2 separate regions of the Homo sapiens genome follow, and region 1 is linked to region 2. The links are contacts of gene promoters, found by promoter capture Hi-C in blood cells and fetal thymus (Javierre and others, 2016). All regions are on one chromosome and are shown on one strand. Each heading gives the region's core, a stretch centred on a gene start or on the middle of the fragment in contact. The rest is flanking DNA. Distances are from core to core; before and after follow the strand shown. Region 1 overlaps INPP5A (inositol polyphosphate-5-phosphatase A). Region 2 holds the start of NKX6-2 (NK6 homeobox 2).

Region 1 (3,867 bases), core at 1,019-3,518, 130 kb after region 2:
GGCCTGCGTGCAGAGGTCTCCTCTGCAGGGGACGGTGGGTGTGCATCAGCCACGGCGCTCAGCACAGAATACCCATGGCTGTGCAGCAGCTGGACCAGGGCATGTTGAATGAATGGACTGCCATGGGAGCTGCTCGCTGAGAAGGAACACTGGATAACCTGGGCACGGTCATCCTTCAAAAGCCTCAGCTTAGACAGCAGCGCCTCCAGACCCGCGTCCGTGGATGCACCCCACAGGGACCTCATGGCCAGCACTGCCCACCACTCCCGCCTCACCCAGAGCTAGGGAACCCTCTGCCCATGGTCCCATGGCTAGATGGCCAGGACCAGCCCCAGAGCTACGGGCCAATGGCAGCTCTCCATCTTTCCAGTTCTGGACCCTTCCAAGGCTGCTCTCAGCAAGGTGCCTTTCTCAGTGCTCCAGCTCCTGACAGGACTTCCTGCTTCCTCAGCCCCAGGCCTCAATCTGAACCCCTGTGCCTCTGAGTCTGCCTGACACCTACAGGAGCACAGACAGGTCTCCCCGGAAGTTTGGAGAACACTGGCGTGGGGAGTGGCACCTGCAGAGCTGGGGACCCACCTAGGCATCTTCGCCTCCTGGGCTGCTCATCCCCAGGGCCCAGGTCGGTAGCCTTGGTGGCTGGCAGCTTCCACTGTGGACGGCAGCTGACTCCAGGTGATGGCAGAAGGAGCTTCCCAGGCAGCCTGTTGAGCACCCACGAGGAAGCGCAGATGCTGGCGGCACCTATCTTTTCAAACTGCCCCAGGCCCGACGCCTTCCACTCTCCTGCCGGGTGCATGGAGCCACCGGGAGCAGCCGGCGGCCTTGGTGGTCTTGGCAGTCTCGGCGGTCTTGGTGGCTTTGGCGGTCTCAGCAGTCTCGGTGGTCTTGGTGGCCTTTCGAAAGGAAAGCTTCTCAAGAGACATACAACCCAGCCTCCTTGGAGCCCAGAGGGCCTAGAGCATCCGTGCCCAGAGACCACCCAGCTGCGGGCAGCTTGCAGACACCCGGGCACCCATGAGCACCCCCGGGGGGCCGGCGGACTCAGCCCTGTGTGTAAACAGATCGACACGCGTCAAGGCTGCATCCAAGGCCCGGCCTGCAGCCAGGAAACACCCGTCTGCTCAGAACGCACGGAGCCGACCATGAAATTAACCTCATGGCAATTGTTTTCCCACCCGTTTGATAGCCCAATGTCAGCTCATCTGTTAGAAGGAAATAAAAGAGTCAAGCCTAAATGTACAAAAAATTATGATGGAAGGTCCTAAATAAAGCAGGCTTATGGAGTCAAACATCAATCCATCAATAAGGGAGTGGATTAGGAGCACCTCATAAGCCCCAAAGAAATAATGTGCCCAAACACTGGGATTTCACAGTGGAGGACCAAATTCCAACACTTTTAGGAAGTAAATAATGAAAAATCAATTCAAAGAAAAAACAGATCAAGAACCCTGGACTCTGACACATTTATTGCTGAATACCATTTCTCGGCTGACCCAAAAACTTCGGAAGGTGTTTATTTACTTTCAACACCTTCCAGAGATCAATATTTTTAATTTGGATCCGAGTTATTATTTTTCACATCACAGCAGCGGGGAGCGGAGTAAAGTGGCTCATATTTTAGTGCTAAAAAGATCGATATGACAGTTTCACCTTCACTGCAGCCCCAGCCGCACATCATCGCGTCCCACGGGACTGCAGGTGCTGGGGCCGGGGAGCAGGTCATTACCTGCCCGCTGAGGAGACAGCCCGTGATTTAGGGGAGCATGAAGGGCCCGGTGCCCTCAGAAAACCAATCTCGCCCCCTCTCACTTCATCAGGACTGTCTTGCCCCCAGGCAGGTGAGGAGGCAGCGAGCCCCAGGGCAGGGCTGGAGCCCTAAGGCAGATGAGCTTCCTCATCATAAACGCGTTTGCCTTTCCTTCCCCTTCTCTGGATCAAAGAACATCCGTAAACTCCATCAATTTTCCATAAATTCTCCCTAAAGTCTTATTTAGGAGAACGAGAGTGGAAGGGGGAGCTCACAGAGGAGGAGGAGGGAAAGCAGAAGGGCCTCTCCCAGGAAGCAGCGGGCCTCTCATTCCTGGGCCACCGCTGGGTACTGGGGCCCCCCACCCCAAGAGCACCAGGGCCACTGCCTGGGGGCCATGCCGAGAGCCTGCCTCTTACAGACTACAGAGCTGGGGGTGGGGGCTGTGAGCTGCCGTGCACAGCACTTGCAAAGGGCATCTGTGCCCCACTTCACTCTCCACAGACCCAGCCGCGGGGGAGGCAGACCCTGCTCTGCAGGAGGCCAGAGCCCCTGGAAAAGCCTAGAAGCCACCAAGGCGCGAGCAGAGTCCACCATGGCAGTGCTTGCAGGTCACTCATGGTGCCAGCAGAGACCTGCCCTCCGAGGTGCAAAGGCAGCGCTAGCGGGTGGGAGAGGGGTAAGCCCCCGGTTGGTGACCAGCGGCCACGTGCTGTGGCCACTCTGCCCAGCAGGCCTTGCAGGCTCATAGTTCTGCTCCGAGCCCAAGAGCCTTGAGTGAGCAGGCGGCGCAGCTTAGCAAGTGCATGGGGCCATCCTGGCTGAGGCAGCCTCCTGCCTCTGGGGCTACTCCACACGGAGGTCTCCTACACAAGGAGCTCAGACTTCACTCTCTCTTCCTCAACGCCTCGGCTTGTGGCTGCCCCAGACCCAACTAGGTCATCGGACCCCAGGCTCAGGCCTGCCCAAGTCCCCACACAGCCCTGTCGCTGCTGTCTGCCCAGAGACTCCTGGCACATGGGGTCCCACGGTTCCCCACATGCACCATCTGGGCTGAGTGCCCAGGCCTGTGGAGCCCTGCTGCATAGGGAAGGGTGCACACGCCTCCGGGCCACCTGAGCAGCTGTGGAAGGGTCTGCACCGCCCTGGGCCCCTCCAAACTGTCTCCAGCTGCTGCATGTGAAAAATCCTCTCAGGAGCCCGGGGCAACCCTGCTTGGTGCCCTTCAGGACCGGCTCACCTGGCCCAGCTGGCTGGCTGCACCTCCAACCCCTCCTTCTGTCTATGTGGCCACAGAGGGGCTCAGGCAAGAGGCGAGGTGGGGCAGCCCGCACAGCCACCTCCTGTCCCCAGCCGCTCCTCCAACCCCCTCTTCTGCTGACTCCTTGACTCCAGCTGGGGTCCTGTGCAGCAGGTACCTTCCCAAGCAGGGGGGACCCTCCGAGGAGCAGGCACTCTCTGAGCAGGCACAGCTGGCGGGGGCAGGGGTGTCCCTGGAGGCAGTGTGTCCGCCAGGCCACACCTTCTCAGCCCTCTCCCGAAGCTATCTTAATTGTATCAGCAGATAAACCCTTCTGCTCCAACTTTAAGCCATTAAAAGGCATGGTTTCTTCAAACTTCTTCTGGGTGGGTGGATGAAGAGGAGAGTGGGGCTTTCCTTCTCACACCCTGACCCCACTGCCACCTTCCCTCTAGGAGTTCCTCCAGGTGGGTGGATGAAGGAGCTGCATGGAGAGAGGGTCTTTCCTCTTGCACCCTGTCCCCACTGCCAGCTTCCCTCTAGGGCTTTCAGTCCGGTCAGGACAGTCCTGGGCATGGGCCCCAGCAGTGCTCACAGCTCCCAGCAGGAAAGCTGCTGAAGCAGCCGAAGCTTTGAGAGGCCACGGTCAGTGCTGGGAGGCCTTGAAGAAGCTGCTGCAGGTGCCCACGCCAGGCCCTCCTGGCCCCACCAGTCTGCATGGGACCCATGCCCAGCCAGCCACAAGGCTTCAATGGGACTAGAGCCCAGGACACAGGCTGGGACCTACACTCAGGCGCCTGCAGCCCCACGCAGCCTCTCTGGGAGGGGCGGGTGACAAGCGAACCAGAGCCATGGATGGTAAGTCACCAAGCTGAGC
Region 2 (3,688 bases), core at 613-3,112:
GCCATAAAACAGCGCTAGCGACGCCCCCTGCCCCGCCCCTCCAGGCTGTGAGAAGAGCCAGAGCCTGTCCCGAGCGCGGCTTCCTCCCGCCGTTCCGCCCGCGCGCGCCTCCTGGGCCTCAGTTCGGGCGACCCGCACCCCTCCCGGCCCGCCCAGGGTCTGCCCGGCCGCGCAGAGTGGGGGATCCCAGGGCGACAGCAGCCCCCGCCCCCAACTCCCCCTGCCCGCCCCCCCCGGCCCCGCAGTTCCCGCGTCTCAGCTCAGAGCCCGAGCCTTGGGCGCGGGCGCCGTCGCCTTGGGGTGCTGGGAGGGGCCCGAACCCGACCCGGGAGGGCCCTTCCTCGTGTCTCCTCCGAGGGAGCGGGGCGCAGGACAGGCCGGGGCGGGTCTCGGGGCCGGACGGGCGCTGGGGGTTCCCGGGCCAGGCTCCGCGGGGGCCGATCACCGGTGGGGCGGCCGCGCCCAATCGAATCCCAATCCCAGTCGAATCGAGTGCGGAGTCGACGGGGGAAGCGAACCCCCCGTGAACGCGGGGCTGCACCTCAGTGGAGCCGGAAGCCGCCGGGGCAGCCCCGAGCGCGCACACACCCGGCGGCCGCACCACTGCCCCGGAGTTTGGCCGCAGGTGGCTTTTCCAAGCCGCCATCCAGGAGCGGCCGACGGCGCCAAGTCCCCGCCTCGACCTGCACAAAACGAAAACGGACGCTGGAGGGGGGCGAGGGGGCGGACGTGAGACCCCGGCCCCGAACCCCGGGCGCCGCCTTCCTCCGCGGCACAGGCCCGAGAGAGGCCACGCAGCGGCGTTCCCTGCGCACAGACTCGGGCTCCCCACGAGCCGTGGGCCACAGCCACAGCCGCCCCGTGTCCCTAAATCAATACGAGACGTCACCACAGACGTCGGAGCGTTTGCTCGCGGCCGCCGTGCGCGGGGCTCGGAGTCATCTCACCGCCCGGTCTGCGGGATGGATGAGCGAGCGGCTCCCGGTGCCGTGGGGGCGGGGGGGACACCGGCCCCCCGCGCGCGTCTAAGGCCGCGTTTCTGCCGCTGCGCCCCCAGCCCGCACCCACGTTCGGGCCCTGGACAGGGCTTCCGCGCTGAGGCCGTCCTGGTCTCTGTTCTCCCGGCCGGGGATTCGCGAGAGGCGGCCCGTGGGCGAAGTCGTGGGCCCAGGTCACATCCTGGGGGACCCCCAGCGGGAGACCTGGAGGCCGATGACGGGGAAGTGCCGAGCCGCGCGTGTGGTCCCGGGACCCGCCTCCCCGCCCCGCTCCCGCCTGCCTCACTCCTCCACCGCGCCGGCCGCGTGTCGGCGAAACCAGAGGCAGCTCCGTGCGAGCCTCGCCCGGCCGTGAGGCCCGTGGATTCCGTGGACTCGAGGCCCGCGTCCTCCGCCCTCCTGTGGCCCCGACCTGCCCGGAGCGCGTTCCCCGCCGGCGTCCGCTGCCGCTCACACCCACCCCAGCCACGGGCGGCGGAGCAGTCGCGACTGGGACGCGGGCCGGGACTCTTCCCCGAGTGGGGCGCTCCGAGCGCGCGGGCGGGTCCTCAAATCTGCATTCTTTCCGTTAATAAAATACGTTCTCGTATTTTTTCCTGATTTCGCATGAAAACCTTTGCCTAACTACACTCCCATCCAAGCTGGATTTATTTCGTCCCCGGGGAGATAAATCGGGGCGAATTTACAGCCCGGGAGGCACCTGCCGCGCTAATGGGCCCTTCATGGAGTGCGCGGCCGGCGGGGGCGCGCGGGCGGGGGGGGGGCGCCGGCCAATGGCCGGACCGCGGGGTCCGCAGCCAATCAGCGCGCGCGCCGCGCCCCGGGGAGCCCCCGTTATCAGCGCGTCCGTCCCGCGCGGCGCCGCTCCGACCGGCCCCGGAGCCGCCGCCGCCGCCGCCCGCCCGCCCGCCCCGCGCCGGAGCCGCCCGCCCGCCCCCCGCGCCCCGCGCCCCGCGCTGCAGCCGACGCCCGCCCGGGCCGCGCGCAAACTTCCCGGGCCGGCGGGCAGGGGCGGCGGCGGCGGGGCCCGGATGGGAGCCCGGGCCGGCGGCGGCGGCGCCCATGGACACTAACCGCCCGGGCGCGTTCGTGCTGAGCAGTGCCCCGCTGGCCGCGCTGCACAACATGGCCGAGATGAAGACGTCGCTGTTCCCCTACGCGCTGCAGGGTCCGGCCGGCTTCAAGGCGCCCGCGCTGGGGGGCCTGGGCGCGCAGCTCCCGCTCGGGACCCCGCACGGCATCAGCGACATCCTGGGCCGGCCCGTGGGCGCGGCGGGCGGGGGCCTCCTGGGGGGGCTGCCCCGGCTCAACGGGCTCGCGTCGTCCGCCGGCGTTTACTTCGGGCCCGCGGCCGCTGTGGCGCGCGGCTACCCCAAGCCCCTGGCCGAGCTGCCGGGGCGCCCGCCCATCTTCTGGCCCGGCGTGGTGCAGGGCGCGCCCTGGAGGGACCCGCGTCTGGCTGGCCCGGGTGAGTGGCCCGCGCGGGGGGTGCGGGGCGGGTGGGCGCGGAGGGGGACCCCGCCGGCCGCTGACCTCCCTCCCTTCCCCTCCCTTGCAGCCCCGGCCGGCGGCGTCCTGGACAAGGACGGGAAGAAGAAGCACTCGCGCCCGACCTTCTCGGGCCAGCAGATCTTCGCGCTGGAGAAAACCTTCGAGCAGACCAAGTACCTGGCGGGCCCGGAGCGCGCGCGTCTCGCCTACTCGCTGGGCATGACCGAGAGCCAGGTGAAGGTGAGCGCGGCGGGGCTCGGGAGAGCAGAGCCGGGGGCCCGCGTCCTGCGAACGGCCCCAGCGCCAGCCCCGGGCCCCGCGGCCGCCTGACCGCCCCGTCCACTCCCAGGTCTGGTTCCAGAACCGCCGGACCAAGTGGCGCAAGCGGCACGCGGTGGAGATGGCGTCGGCCAAGAAGAAGCAGGACTCGGACGCCGAGAAGCTGAAGGTGGGCGGCTCGGACGCGGAGGACGACGACGAATACAACCGGCCCCTGGACCCCAACTCGGACGACGAGAAGATCACGCGGCTGCTCAAGAAGCACAAACCCTCGAACTTGGCGCTGGTCAGCCCGTGCGGCGGCGGCGCGGGGGACGCCTTGTGAGGACCCGCGGGGTGGGGGCGAATCTATTTTTGCAGAATCCGGGGGCGGCCCCGGGTGGGCGCGAGTCGCTTTGTATCATCAATAAATTATTTAACGGGTCCCCGTCGGAGCCGTCGCTCCGGAGCCTGCGCCGCGTGTTTCTTCCGTCTCGAACCCGGAGCGAGGCGGCCCCTCCCCGGCCCCGGCTTCGCCCCTGCGCCCGCCTCGGGTCCTCCGGGTTCCCGGTGCGGAGGCTGCGGGCCCCGGGCAGGCGCGAGGAGGCGGCGAAGGCGCAGGGAAGGGGCCCGGCCCGCGGGAAGGAACCGCAGCGACAGCCGCCAGGAGCCCGGGACGGAGCCGGGGACGGAGCAGCAGGTACGGCCCGGCCCGCCTCGCCTCGGGGCGGATTCGGACGCGCTTGGGGGTTCCCGAAAGGGCGGGTGAGCCGCGTACCCGCCTCGAGTCCCCGCGGGAGGTTTTTCTTCTTCCGTTTTCCCGCTTTGGGGCCACGTACTCGTTGCCACCGGGCACCCGTTCCCGCTTGGCCGAGGGCTTCGCTCTGATTATTTCCAAAGTCCCTCTGCGCATCAGCGGATCCCATAGGCCCGCCCTGGGC

What was found. Contacts are between HindIII fragments. The CHiCAGO score rates a contact against its expected background, and 5 or more counts as called.
Region 1: a fragment that was not itself captured here is called in contact with the fragment with the promoter of NKX6-2 in region 2 in 1 of 17 cell types (endothelial precursors); the score reaches 5.6 in endothelial precursors.

Annotation. Positions count from the first base shown.
Region 1 is chr10:132,655,807-132,659,673 of GRCh38, reverse strand. All of the region lies in intron 4 of INPP5A (inositol polyphosphate-5-phosphatase A), which reads right to left. Among named protein-coding and RNA genes, the nearest start is that of INPP5A, 120 kb to the right of the region's middle. The HindIII fragment of the contact is 2,709 bases long and covers 914-3,622 here.
Region 2 is chr10:132,784,321-132,788,008 of GRCh38, reverse strand. It overlaps NKX6-2 (NK6 homeobox 2), which reads left to right and starts at 1,862. Exons shown (of 3, transcript NM_177400.3): 1 at 1,862-2,466; 2 at 2,557-2,729; 3 at 2,839-3,688. The coding sequence starts at 2,061. The coding sequence ends at 3,093. The HindIII fragment of the contact is 11,480 bases long and covers 1-3,688 here.